Regions from separate parts of the Homo sapiens genome. Here region 1 is linked to region 2. Evidence: promoter capture Hi-C in 16 types of primary human blood cells and fetal thymus (Javierre and others, 2016). All regions are on one chromosome and are shown on one strand. Each heading gives the region's core, a stretch centred on a gene start or on the middle of the fragment in contact. The rest is flanking DNA. Distances are from core to core; before and after follow the strand shown. Region 1 overlaps GSKIP (GSK3B interacting protein). Region 2 holds the start of CCDC85C (coiled-coil domain containing 85C).

Region 1 (6,759 bases), core at 57-2,556, 3.2 Mb before region 2:
CCACCACGCCTGGCTAATTTTTGTATTTATAGTAGAGATGGGGTTTCACCATATTGGCCAGGCTGGTCTCGAACTCCTGACCTCGTGATCCACCCACCTCATTCTCCCAAAGTGCTGGGATAACAGGCGTGAGCCACCACGCCCGGCTTGAAATTTATTTCTTATAGTAATGGAGGCTGAGAAGTCCAAGGTAGAGGGGTCACATTTGGAGAGGGCCTTCTTGGCGGTGGGGACTCTGCAGAGTCCTGAGGTGGCACAGGGTATCACATGGTGAGGGGGCTGAATGTGCTGGCTCACATCTTTCCCCCTCTTCTTACAGAGCCACCAGTTCCACTTGCATGATAACCCATTAAACTATTAATCCATAAATGGATTAATCCACTCTTTGGGTAGAGCACTCATGACCCAGTCACCTCTTAAGGCTTCACTTTTTGGTGCTGCCACGTTGCATTGGAAATTGAATTTCAACATGAGTTTTGGAGGGGACAAGTATTCATACTAATAGCACACCCCAATTAAAAGAGGTTGCCAGATGGATGAAAAAGCAGGACCACACTACATACTGCCAGTAAGAAACCCATATTAAATAAAAAGATATTTGTATTTCCATTCCGAAGACCTTAAAACAGCCTATTATATCAAAATCAAATTCCTCTCTCTAGGTGTCAGCATGCTGTCAGATTGGGCCATCCCTGCATATCCTTGTATTTTAGCCCGACTAGTTCCTGCCACACCCTGTGCTGACCTTTGCTTATGCTTTGTTCCCTACACAGAATTTTTCACAACTCTCAAGACCTTTTTGCTTATTTATAACTCTTTATTCATGCTCATTCCAAACCAATTTTGACTGACCTGTACCCTTAGTCAAGCCCCATCATAACTAACCATTACGTCATAGATTATAGAATGTCAAAGCTCTTAGAACAGTAAAGAATTTTCTGCCTATTTACCTTATTTTGTAGATGAGACCTCCGTAAGACCAATGAGATTATGTGCCCAACTCAGGTTCATACAAGTTTAGTGATAAGAGTTTGTAGTAGGACGAAGACATATCATTGTTTTCTGTAATTATCTGCCACTCACAATTAAGTACATTTGGGGAGAATAATTATGATGTGTGTGTATGGCATTAATATTTGTGCAAATATTTCATGTGCCTGTTTTCTTTCCCAAAGTAGACTGCAAGCTACCAGTAGATATCTTTTATTAGTATTCTAGTGCTTAAAAAAAAGTCGGCTATGTAGGTACCGAGTGGATTATGATATTTGATTAATAAACTTAGAATCCAAGTAGACAAGATTATAAAACATAGGATAATGATTCATTAGTTTTTACTATTTGAAACAATGATGATTGATTCCTTTACATACAGTAATTAAGATTCAATTATATCTCAAGTTCCAAATTTTGCTACTCATATATAAAGTTTGATTCAGTGCCTTTACATCTGCTGAGATTTTTCAACCTTAGTATAAACTCTGCTTATTATATTATCTGCAAGTTTTCACAGAGGTCTAGACCTGTGCCATCTGATACAGTGGCCACTAGCTATTTAAATTTAAATGAACCAAAATTAAATAAATTTTTAATTCAATTTCTCCATCACAGTAGCCAAACTTCAGATGGCTATTAGCTGCTGTATTGGAGGGCAACAATAAAGAACATTTCCGTCATCACAGAAAGTTCCATTCATTTAGAATTTCTTATATGATGATAAATTGTTTTGTGTACAAAAAGGGAAAGCAAAGATTTTTACAGGATTCACATTGATGAGTCAACCATTCTGGTAACCTGATGGCAGTTCTAAAGTGTTGATAGTAATTCTAGTGGTTGTTCCTTCGCTGAAATGGGCGTGTATTTTCTCATCCTCAATGGTACAGGCTTCTAGTCAGGTACACAGATAATCCATTGAGCAGAAAATATATCTATATTCCATCTTTACCTTCTGTTTAAATGTATATTTATATGTCTTAAATATTTTAATTGTGGTAGAATATTTATATAAGTGCTTATAATAAGGTGTCTGCTCAAAATATTTTTACCTTCTGGGGTACATAATCCAAAGTGTGGAAGCTGCTTCTCAAGTGTCGGTCAACATAGCAACCTAGCTGCTCACTGCTCTGCCTCTGTAACTCCTGTCATCACCAGCTAACTGACTTCATGGTTTTTGGCTCTTTTCAAACTCCTTGAGAGAGCATCTGATTAGCTAGACCACCATCCGGAAGTAGTTGGACAAAGCTCTTGACTTGGGACATAAATAAACCCCTTGCCAACCTTGAGATGGTGCCTTTAATTGGAATACCCATCCCCAGTACATGTTGCTATGATGATGCTGGAATTAAAATACAAAGCATGAAACCTATGATTCAGAAACCTTTCCAGAGAAGGCAATGGGCTTGGCAAGTACTCTAGGCTTCCTTTTAAGAGAAGCATGTAAACTGCTTAGCACCTTATGTTGCCCATCAAATGTGTTCACTGAAAATAAATTATGGCCAAGCGCAGTGGCTCACACCTGTAATCCCAGCATTGTGGGAGACCAAGGCAGGAGGATTGCTGGATCCCAGGAGTTCAAGACTAGCCTGGGTAAACATAGGAAGACCCTGTCTCTCCAAAAAATAGAATCACCCGGACCTGATGGCACCCACCTGCAGTCCCAACTACTTGGGAGGTTGAGGTGGGAGGATCATTTGAGCCTGAGATTGTGCCACTGCACTATGGCCTAGGTGACAGCAAGATCCTGCCTCATAAATAAATAACTCTCCAAAAAAAAAGGAAGAGCAGAAAAAGAAGTCATTTGAATGTTTTTATTATGTTAAAGATTGAGGAAGGTACCATAAGCTAAGGAATTCAGATGGCCTCTAGAAGTGAGAAAAGGTAAGGAAACAGATTCCTTCCTGAAGCCTCTAGAAGGAATACAGACCTGCTGACATCTTGCTTTTAGACTTCTCATCTCCAGAACTGTAAGAGAATAAGTGTGTGCTATTTGAAGCCACTAATTTGGTAATTTATTATAGTAGCAATAGGACACTAATTGATATCCAAAGATTTTGGATATTTATCTATAAAGCTTTTATTAAGCACTTTCTACATGGCAGGCACAAAAATATTCATCATGATCACCCGAGCTCCATTTTCTAAACCTTTTTACCTTCATAGGGCTGTTATAGAGCTAAATCAATCACTGCCTTTCATTATGGGTAGACTCCTAAATCCAATAGAATGCTTTCTGTTGCCCGTAAGATAATAGGAATTTGTTGGCTCCGATAACTGAAAAGTGCAAATCCTGGGAAACCAGCATGGGCTCTGGCCACATTTCTCTGTGAATCTCTTGGCTCTGTTTTTTTCTGTTGTCAGCATCATGCTTGGGCTAGTGGCCCCATCTCAACATGGCTACTTGGAACAGCTTGAGCTGTGTGCTGTGACTGAACTAATCTGATTAAAGTGACCAAGAAGTCCGGGCGCAGTGGTTCATGCCTGTAATCCCAGCACTTTGGGAGGCTGAGGCGGGTGGATTGCTTGAGGTCGGGAGTTCAAGACAAGCCTGGCCAACATGGTGAAACCTTGTCTTGACTAAAAATACAAAAATTAGCCGGGTCTGTAATCCCAGCTACTCGGGAGGCTGAGGCGGGAGAATCACTTGAAGCCGGGAGGCAGAGGTTGCAGTGAGCCGAGATCATGTCACTGCACTCCAGCCTGGGCAACAGAGCGAGACTCTGTCTCAAAAAAGTAAAGTGACCAGGAAGAATTTCATGTATTAATTAGTTTGAAGAGTCTGTATCTGGGGATTGGAGTCAATCTCAGCCAAATTGCTTGGTTACTTTACTTAGTACGGGAAGGGAGCATTATGGTTGCCCTTGGAAAATATGGGTGGTCATAGGCAGGGAAAAGGATATTGGTAAATAATCAAGAACCTGCTTCAACCAACAAAAAACAAGTTGTAATCATACCTTAAAATAATAGCTAAAAATGTTATTTATGTAATGCTCCATTACTTTAATTTATATGTATCATCAAAAGTTCTAAATTGTATGTTATTCAAAGACATTTCAGGGAAAGTGTCTTAAAAGTTCAGTCTTAGGAAAGGTGTCTTCCTCTTTTTTGCAGCTCGGTGCTGATTATCACAACTGTTTGGTGACCTACTTCACTGACCTGTGAGGATTCCTTCCCTTCAGGTACTGGATTCTTGATCTTTCTGCATCATCAAGGTCCTAATTGCAATGAATTACACTCTTGCTTAAAAAAAAGCTTTATAAATGTAAAACTTTCTCATATAAACATCTTTTTATGTAATGATCATTATTTCTGACATCTCCAATTGAAGTACTTGATAACTTAAGCAAAATTAAGATGTTTGATATTCATGATGTCAAGAGATTTATAGTAGTCATTTCTAAATCTTCAAAACTATGTAAAAAAGAAAGGGCTCATTTTGTATGTATAAGACCAAATATAATCTTGAGCAGTATACTGATTATTTTTGGAATAAGGTAAAATTTGGAAAGCCAAATTTTTTTTCCTATATAATAAGTCAATTTGAGCTTTCAGTTACCCAACAGATTGCTCCAGCAATAATTGGTAATTTTATAATTAACTTCTGTTGTTTGTAGCGAGTGACTAATTCTGTAAAGTGCTGTGAGAGACGAGATAAAGAGTCTTTAAAACATTATTAATTGAAATAGGATTGGAGGAATACATTATACATTTGCTATGTAAGTTTTTGAAATAGCTTTACATATGTTATTATAAATTGCATTCAGCAAGTAGTTCTGACTTTTGTAATGTGCAAATGACATTCAGCTGTAGGAACTCCAGCTTCTTAAGATTTTTGCTGATAATTTAGAGCAGTGGCTGCACAGCAAAATCACTCAGGAGCTCTGAAAAAAATAACTCGTCTTCCAGAGATTTTGATTTTGTTTTTCTGCAGTGAGGAAAATGTATCTGTAATTTTATAAGCTCTTACAGGTAATTCTAATGACTAGCTTAAAGGATTTTGAATGTCACTATCTTGAAGGATTTTGAATATTACACAAATAGGGCATAACTTGGAAATAGCAATGGACTGTGCAGTGTACCAGATCGGTGTCCATATTGTCAGAAAAAAATTGAGACTCCTTCTAAAAATGCATTTAAGAGCCAGGTGTGGTGGCTTGAGCCTGTAGTCTCAACTACTCAGGCGGCTGAGGTAGTAGGATGGCTTGAGCTCAGGAGTTCTAGGCTATAGTGCACAGTGATCACACCTGTGAATAACCACTGCACGCCAGCCTGGGCAACATGGTGAGACCTTGTCTCTTAAAATACAATGAGTTTCTTACCAGTCTAATCTAACTCCAGTGTGGTGAGGGGGTGGGACTAGACCTTGACCACAGTGCCCAAGTAGATAGGAAATGAATGTTGATTGAATATGTGAGTGAGTGAAGAGTTATGCTTCATTCACGACAGCAGATGCTTAATCCATATCAGAGAAGTGAAACTTTACTTTTAAAACCTGCCAAGCAAAAAGAAAGCACAATAGCTCACCATAACTTGTTCTGTAAAGCCTTTTGTACATTCCAAAGCACTTTCACATTAACTTTTCTCATTCATACATTTCAAATTTTAACAATACATATAGCCAGGAAGATCTTTTTTAACCCCAGTTACAGAAGAAAAGCTAAAACCACATAGCAGCCTGGCAGTAATATTTGATCAAGTTAGCGTGAGAAATTAGAAATAATATTTTTCAAAATATAACATTTGGGTCAGTTCAAATTAATGGTGAAAAGATGAGTTATTCAGTAAATGGTATTGGTACAGTTGGCTATCCATTTGGAAAATAAAGTTATGCAAAATAAATTCCAGATGGATGAGTTAAATTCAGATACAACGAGAATTTAGGGGATTTTTAAAATGTAATCATGGTATGGGGAAGGCCTAGAGCAGAACCCCAATCCAGAAGTCATAAAAGGAGCTACTGAGACTTACCTACTGTGGTAGGTAAAGACTTGCACTCTGATTTCATGCAATTTAGATTTATTTCCATTTCTGCTTATTGCAACTGTATGATCTTAGAACTAAAACTATCCTTTAAACATCCAAACAGATGTTTACTCAAGGAAATACATATTACAACAATGAGCTATCATTCTTTGCCTCTTAAATTGGCAAAAATTTAAAAGAATTGGAAAGAGGTGAAAAAGAGTACAGTCCCTCATATTCTATTGGTAAAGTATAAGTCATACTCTCTTTTTTTGTTTTTTTGAAGGGTAAATTGACAGTATCTATTAAAAGTTAAAATAAGTATGTCCTTTGACTCAGCAATTTCAGTCCTAAATATCTGTCCTAGAGAAATAATTATACATTTAAAAATATGTACTAGGATTGTTACTGAGGCATTATTCAAAATAGCTAAAAAACACAATATTCTAAATGCTTATCAATATGGAAATTGACCTGTTGGGGGTAAGTGGAGAAGGGAGATTCTTTTTTTTGAAGATCTATGGGTGTCGGTGATTTTGCTGTGAAAAACCACTAGAAATGTTTTTAGATAGTATTTTTCCTAACAATTGTTAGCTAGTGTTTTGTACTAAGGAGCAATTGTAAGGCATAGCTAATTTTAATCAAATGTAGTAGTTTGAATGTCTTTCTATAAACAAATTTTATAACTGCTTTTTTTTTTTTTTACAGAATGGAAACAGACTGTAATCCCATGGAGCTAAGCAGTATGTCAGGATTTGAAGAAGGTTCAGAGCTGAACGGTTTTGAAGGAACTGACATGAAAGA
Region 2 (6,641 bases), core at 4,142-6,641:
GGACCATTTGGAAGCTCTGAACAGAATGGAATTGGGACTGGGATGCTGTTTGTGGCAAACTGTGAAGCACTGGGCACAGTTTACCCACCCCTGGGTCACCTGCCTGGGAGCCTCTCAAGGCCAGCCCTCCTTTCTGAGGCCCAGCATCCCAAGGCCATTGATGGATCCCTTGGGACAGGCTGGGGAAGGAGGGGGAAAGGCTTATCTAACCCACCCCATTGTCTTCACTGACCTTTGTTCCTGAGCTTGGCTGGGTTTAGGAAAAGCAGCCTTATTAGCCGAGCTGCTGCACAGAAAAGACCTATTCAGAGTTAGCGTGCTCTGTCTTTTTCTAAAGGCCCAGACCACCCCGTTCCATCCTCCCTCTTAAACCAACAAAAACACAAGCAGGAGAACAAACCTGTCTCATTTTGAGAAGCTCAAAATTTTAATCCGAACTTTAAAAAGTAAATGGGGCTCATGCACAGGCTTGCTAGAATCCTAGTTCCTCCAGGTTGGCTAAAGGGGAGTGGACCGTGGAGGAGCAGGTTATCAGGGGAGGGAAGGAAATGCCTGGCAATGGGCAGGAGGGGGGCATGGTGCCTGTCGTGGGGCACAGGAGACAGGCGGAGGGGCAGCTGGAAAAAGAACTGAAAATTCTTTTGTTTGAAAATCCTATCAGTTCATGAAGGAGAACCTGACTTTCTGGTGTTGGGGTTTACCTGTCTCAGTGTGCCACACTGGACTAGAGCAACGCACAGCCCAGTCCCAAGTCCAGTCAGCCCAGACCAGACCTCTACCAAAGGCAGCCAAGGCCAGGTGCAGTGGCTCACGTCTGTAATCCCAACACTTTGGGAGGCCAAGGCAGGAGGACTGCTTGAACCCAGGTGTTCGAGACCAGCCTGGGCAACATAGTGAGATCCAGTCTCTACAAAAAATTCAAAAATTATCTGGGCATGGTAGCACACATCCCAGGAGGCCGAGGCAAGAGGATTACTTGAGCCCAGGAGGTTGAGGTTGCCGCGAGCCATGATGGTGCCATTGCACTCTAGCCTGGGTGACCAGAGAGACCCTGTCTCTAAATAAATAATAAATAAATAAATAAGCAGCCAAGGAGAAAAGCCTATTTGCATGTACATACACAATACACAGGCCCACCAGGCCAGCCTCAGCCAGGGCTGCCTTGCATACAGATGGGCCACCTCCCACCTCAGCCACTAGAGTCTGCCCAGGGCACCCAGCAGGGCTGCAACTGCCACCAGCTCCCCAGAAAGGACAGCAGGGCCACTGTCCTCACTAGCTCATCAGCAAGTGCTGCCACACAAGAGGCTCAGATGCAAACATTCAGGTGAGCTGTCTAAGCAGCAAGCACTTTTGAAGAGGAAACTGAGGTCTGTTGGGAGAGCCCCAAGGACCCTAACAACAGGAGAAACCTACTGTGTGTAGATCCTGACCTCACTCAACCTTGTGTGAATAATGGGGCACTCTGGGTTCTGTCCATCTTACAGAAGAGGAGCACAGAGAGGCTTGGCCAGTTAATAACTTGCCCAGTATACATGGAGGAGCTGAGATTCAAACTCAAGTCACCCTGAGCCTCTGGGTAACGGGGTTATCAGCCATCTGCTCAATGGTCACTGATAAGGAAGTGACACTTCCCAGCATGGGAGAAAGAGGGCAAACCTGGGTCAGGAATCAAGAATAGGGAGTCACCAGTGTCCCCTGATTAACAGTAACAGCAAACATGACAACAGACCAAGGGCACAACAGATTCAGACCCAAGGCCTGAACACGAGATGATCATGGCAGCAAACCCACCCAGGACAGGTACTTCCAATGTCAGCCACCTTCCCAGACAAGGCTAGGAACCCCTCTAAGCCTCCACTTGCTTGTCTGTCAAATGGGGATAATACTGCTTCCCCAGGGTTCCTGTGAGAAGAAGCAAAGACCAAACACATAAGGCGCAAGCCTGGTGTCTGACCCCACTTTAGACACCACCCAGACAGAGACTCATTATCTCCCTCAGCTCAGGCCCAATCTTTGCTCAATTTAAAGTTACAAGTCCCAGAATAGAAAAGCCCAGTTTCACCAGGTGAGGTGGCTCATGGCTCTAATCACAGCTACTTGGGAGGCTGAGCTGGGAGGATCACTTAAGCCTGGGAGGTTGAGGCTGTAGTGAGCCATGAGTGTTCCATTGCACTCTAGCCTGGGTGACAGAGTGACACCCTGTCTCGAAAAAAGGGAAAAAAGAAAGAAAGAACAGCTCAGTTTCTAAGAGAAGGGCCTTTCCTGGTTTCCAAGCCTTCCATTTACATTAGTGGGACCACATCCCAAGGCCACACATGGCTTTAAGAGACAAAACTAAATAATAATAATTCCATCTGTAACCGAAATTTGTAATAATAATGCTGAATTTTCATTTCACCCCAAAGCAAGGTTTGCTGCCACAACATTTGCAGCAGTCCTGTGCTAAGTGGGCTTGGGGGAGGATGGGTTCTGTGGGAAACCCTATACTTCAACCTCCCACTGACCCCCAGTGGGGTGGAAAACTCAGTGTAGCCTAGTCCTCCACTCCTGTATTATTCACTGTCGCAGCTGACATGCTGAGCCAGACTGGGGCCGCATCTCCTTGCCCAAAACTCGACAGAGCCTTTCCTGCAAGTATGCTCTAAACACTCCAGCCCTCCAGTGTCCTGCAGAGAGGCACTCTTGCCAAGTGTCATTGATGACGCAGCTGAAAACCAGAAACATTTCACTTTCCAGCCACGAGACTGCAGCAATCTGCTCTTTGGACTGCACTTAGGGAAACCGAGGCCCAGATAACTGACCCCTCAAAAGCCCCCAGGACGGCAAAATCAAAGGGGCTGAGGTGCTCTGAACAGCCCCAGCAAATTAAACCACCTAACTTTGCGCTACTCCCACTGCCCTGAAGCAGCCTGTGGTGGGAGGTGGGGGTGGATACAGTGTTACAAAGAGAAACCTGAGTTGTAGCCATAGATTGCTAATCAGTAACAAAATATCCCTCTAAACCCAGTCCTGCCTTGAACCCACAGGCTCAGGATGGTAAATAAAGGAAAAACATGCTGCACTGCCCCTGCCCCACCTCCATGGGTATGTCTCCCACCCCAGCCCCCACCCCAACACGTCTGCAGAGGCCACTTGGCCACCAAACTAAGGAGAAAACGTCCCTCCCCAGCTCAGGCTGAGGGGTTCTGGGGAGGGCAGTTATTGCAGGCTTAGACACACTTTCTCTGAATTAGGAAAGGCTTTAAAGGGAACCAGAAAGAGCTGTTCATTCTCCACCTTCAGGCAAAAAGTTCAGGCAGTTGCAACTACCAGCAGAACTGGAAGCCAAGCTACCAAAAAACGTGGAAGAACAGGGAGGCCCCGGATCCACCAGCGAGGAGGAGAAAGCTGGCAGGGAGCAGAAGGGCTGAGCAGGGGGCTGGGAGAGGGAGCAGGCTGCAAGCTCCCACAGCCCCAAGCTGGGGCCACCCTCTGCACTGGGCGCAGCAGTAACATGGGCGTAGAAGACAGAAGCTGACAGAGGCCAAAGTTCCTCCCACCCACACCCTGGTCACGGATGACCACGGCACTTCCTGTAAGGCGATCAACAGTTTATAAATCCCTTCAGAAGGTTTATCTCCACCTCAAACCCACGAGGCAGAGGTCATCATCTCCATTTCACAGACAAAGAAACTGAGGCACACAGAGGAGAAAAGCTAGAATCCGTTCCAAATACATCTCCCTCGGGAAAGTCTTAGAGTCTCGGCTGAGAAAGGTCCCAGGACTAGAAGGGCGGAATTTATGGCAAACAAGAAAGGCTCTGAGCCCCAGGCCTCTCCCCAACTGCCTCTGGGTCTCAAGCGGCTGCCTGTGCACCTTCCCAATCCCCACACCCCACTGCAGAACTCCAGCCACCGCACACACGTGGACGCTGCTTGGTTTGGAGGACACCTGTTGCTGCAAGAGGGGAAATTCACTTGCGCTCAAGGGGCCTTGTATCCTTTGCTGTTTAGAACTTCCCGCTACTAGGCAAGGATTTCCAAGGCTGGGATGAGGCGCCCACCGCCAGCCCAGCAGTGACAGACCCTAATTTTGGCAACTACACCCGCTAGAAACTTTTCTGGGACCGGACCGGCAGCAGGTTCTGAGCTGGACAAAAAGACGCTCCACCACTGAACCGGCCCACCACCGCCCAAAGCCCCACTTTGGGTGAGTGCGGGATCCCCTGGCCCAGGATCCATGACAGCTGGAGGAGTCTGGAGTGGCGGCCGCATGAGTGGGACAGCCAGGGACCACCTCCTCTCGCCGCAGCCTGGGAAAAGGGCTGCAGCCAGGGAGACCCGCGCTGCCCGGCCCGTGTAGTCCTTACCGTGCAGGCCGTTGGGGATGCTGCGGTGGTGCGGCGGCGCCGACAAGTCGTCCAGGGACCGACGTGTGGCTCCTGCCTTGCCGTCGGGGGCCTTGTGCGGCCCGGGGGGCAGCAGCGGGGGTGGGACGTGGTGGTGGTGGTCGGGGCTGCCGCCGCTGCCCGCGCTGGACGTACTGCTGCCGTCGCCCACGTCGCGGGCCCCCGCGCCGGGCGCGCCACCCGACAGCGGCCCGCTCAGGCTGGCCTGGCTGTCGATGGAGCTGCGGGAGCCGGCGCCGCCCCCGCCGCCGCCGCCACCGCTTGCGGCCCCCGTCGCCGCCAGTGCCGCGCGCTCCTCGTCCAGCAGCAGCACCAGCTCCTTGAGCTCCAGGTTCTCGCGCAGCAGGGCCTCCTGGCGCGCCTCGAGCTCGCGCAGCTTCTGCTGCGAGCGGGCCACCTCGTGCCACACGGCGCCGGCCGCGTGGCGCCCGAAGCGCTGCCACTCGCGCGCCAGCTTGCGCCCCTTCTGCCGGTCGTCGTCGAGGAAGCAGCAGAGCTCGCGCAGCTCCTGGTTGTCGTCCTGCAGCCGCTGGTTCACGTCCTTGAGGCCGCGGATCTCCAGCAGGTGCTGCTGCAGCCGCCGGTTCACGTCGCGCATCAGGCCGCCGTGCTCCAGCATGAGGCCCACCTTCTCGCCCTCGGCGCGCCGCAGCCGCCGCGCCAGCTCCTCCTTGCTCCAGCGCAGCAGCTCCTCGTCCGGCACCTGGCTCAGCTCCTCCGACGCCGCCGCCGCCGTCGCCGCGGGCTTAGCCATGGCGGGGCCGTCACCGCGGCATCGCCCTCGCCCTCGCCCGGCCGGCGCTTCCCCGCGCCGGGGCTCCGCTGGGCCGGTCCGCGCGCGGGCGGGGGGCGGCCGGGGGCGCGTGCGGCCCGCCCCGCGCCGCCTGGCGCGTCCTCTCGCCGCGCCCGCCGGGGCCGCCCGGGAGCCCGCGCGCCTCGGGGTTGACGAGCGGAGGCGGCTGCTGCGTCGGCGGCCGCGGTGCCGGGCGCTCTCAGGGTTCTGGAGAAGCAGGCGGAGGCCCGCCCCCGGCCCAGCTCCCGGAGCCCCCGCCGCCCCGCCCACCCCGGGCGGAGAGTGGGCGGGTCTCCGAGGCCCGGCCCCGCCCCCGAGGGCGACTGGGGAGCAGAGGCGCGGCCCCCGCCGTCCCCCTGCGCGGTGCGCCCGCCCGTCCAGTGCCCTCTCAGAGGCGCGTTCCGGCCGCGGTCCCGCCCTCCCGGCCGGGCGATTGGGCCGCTCCGGGGGTGTGCGGGAGGGGCGGGGCGCGCGCGGGGGAAGCTGCGGCGGTGGTACGGTCCATCCGCGGGGTTTCCGACCCCCGCCCGCGGCCGGCTCCCGGCGGTTCAAGTTTCTGCGCCCGGAGGACGCGGCCTTAGCCAATCCCAGGGCTACAGGGCGCTTTTAAAATGCAGGTACGGCTGCGGGGAGGGGGACGGTGGGAAAGGTAGGGCCGGGCTTCCCTTAAAGGCGACGCGCGAAAATAGCAGTCGAGCCCCCTCCCCGGCCCGCGTCCCCGGTCCTCTTCCCTCTCCCCAGATAAACAAATACCCACGATCCGGGCGACGGCGCCCCTTCTCCCTCCCGGGGGCACCAGAGTTCAGGGCAGTCGGAGACACAGCGAACAATAGGACTGTGACATGGGGGTCGCTCTTCCCCGCAGCAGGGCGGCTCTTTGTCCCCTTCCCTGCCCCCAGGCTCCTCCGCCCCCGTCCCCACCCGGGTCCCCTGCCGGAGCACGCGGCGGGGCTGCGTCTCCACTCCTAGCCCAGGGCTGAGCTAAACGCTGGCGTCCGCGCCCCTGCAGGGCCAGGGCCTTGCCAGCCGCGTCCCGCAGCGCGGTCAGTACTCTCTGCCCCGATGGGGCGAGAGCTCCGGGAACCTGCCCCCTGCCCGGAGCGGCGCTCGGAGCCCCGCTCCACCTCCGCTCACTCGACCGCTAAATCCCTGGGATTCGGGAGATAATCTGCAATTCGCGGGGTGGAAACCACTGGGAAGGGTGGGAAGGTCTCCCACTGGGGCCTGAACGCCGGGGTCCGGGGGCGCCGAGCCGGCCACAGAACTCCCCACCGGCGGCCTCGCGGGACCCCCGGGCTTCCCACTGCCTGTAAGTCTGTCTCGTTATCCTCCGGTCCCCAAAGCGCATTTACGGCGCGTCTACCGCCAGCAGGCGGGGCGGGGCGGGGCGGGGGGGGGTCCCTCCCCCGGAACCTGCAACGAGATCAAATCCGCGCACGCGACAGTGAGCGGCCCACG

Evidence for each region. Contacts are between HindIII fragments. The CHiCAGO score rates a contact against its expected background, and 5 or more counts as called.
Region 1: a contact is called between a fragment that was not itself captured here and the fragment with the promoter of CCDC85C in region 2, in 1 of 17 cell types (naive CD8 T cells). The highest score is 6.8, in naive CD8 T cells.

Annotation. Positions count from the first base shown.
Region 1 is chr14:96,375,584-96,382,342 of GRCh38, forward strand. It overlaps GSKIP (GSK3B interacting protein), which reads left to right. Exons shown (of 4, transcript NM_016472.5): 2 at 4,105-4,205; 3 at 6,664-6,759. The coding sequence starts at 6,665. Among named protein-coding and RNA genes, the nearest start is that of AK7, 13 kb to the right of the region's middle. The HindIII fragment of the contact is 3,518 bases long and covers 1-3,065 here.
Region 2 is chr14:99,598,816-99,605,456 of GRCh38, forward strand. CCDC85C (coiled-coil domain containing 85C) reads right to left here and starts at 5,392. Exons shown (of 6, transcript NM_001144995.2): 1 at 4,352-5,392. The coding sequence starts at 5,144. It also overlaps a transcript of HHIPL1 not described here. RefSeq lists enhancers at 1-55, 3,587-4,240, 4,947-5,066 and silencers at 5,327-5,856, 5,997-6,136, 6,197-6,266, 6,447-6,596. The HindIII fragment of the contact is 18,022 bases long and covers 1-6,641 here.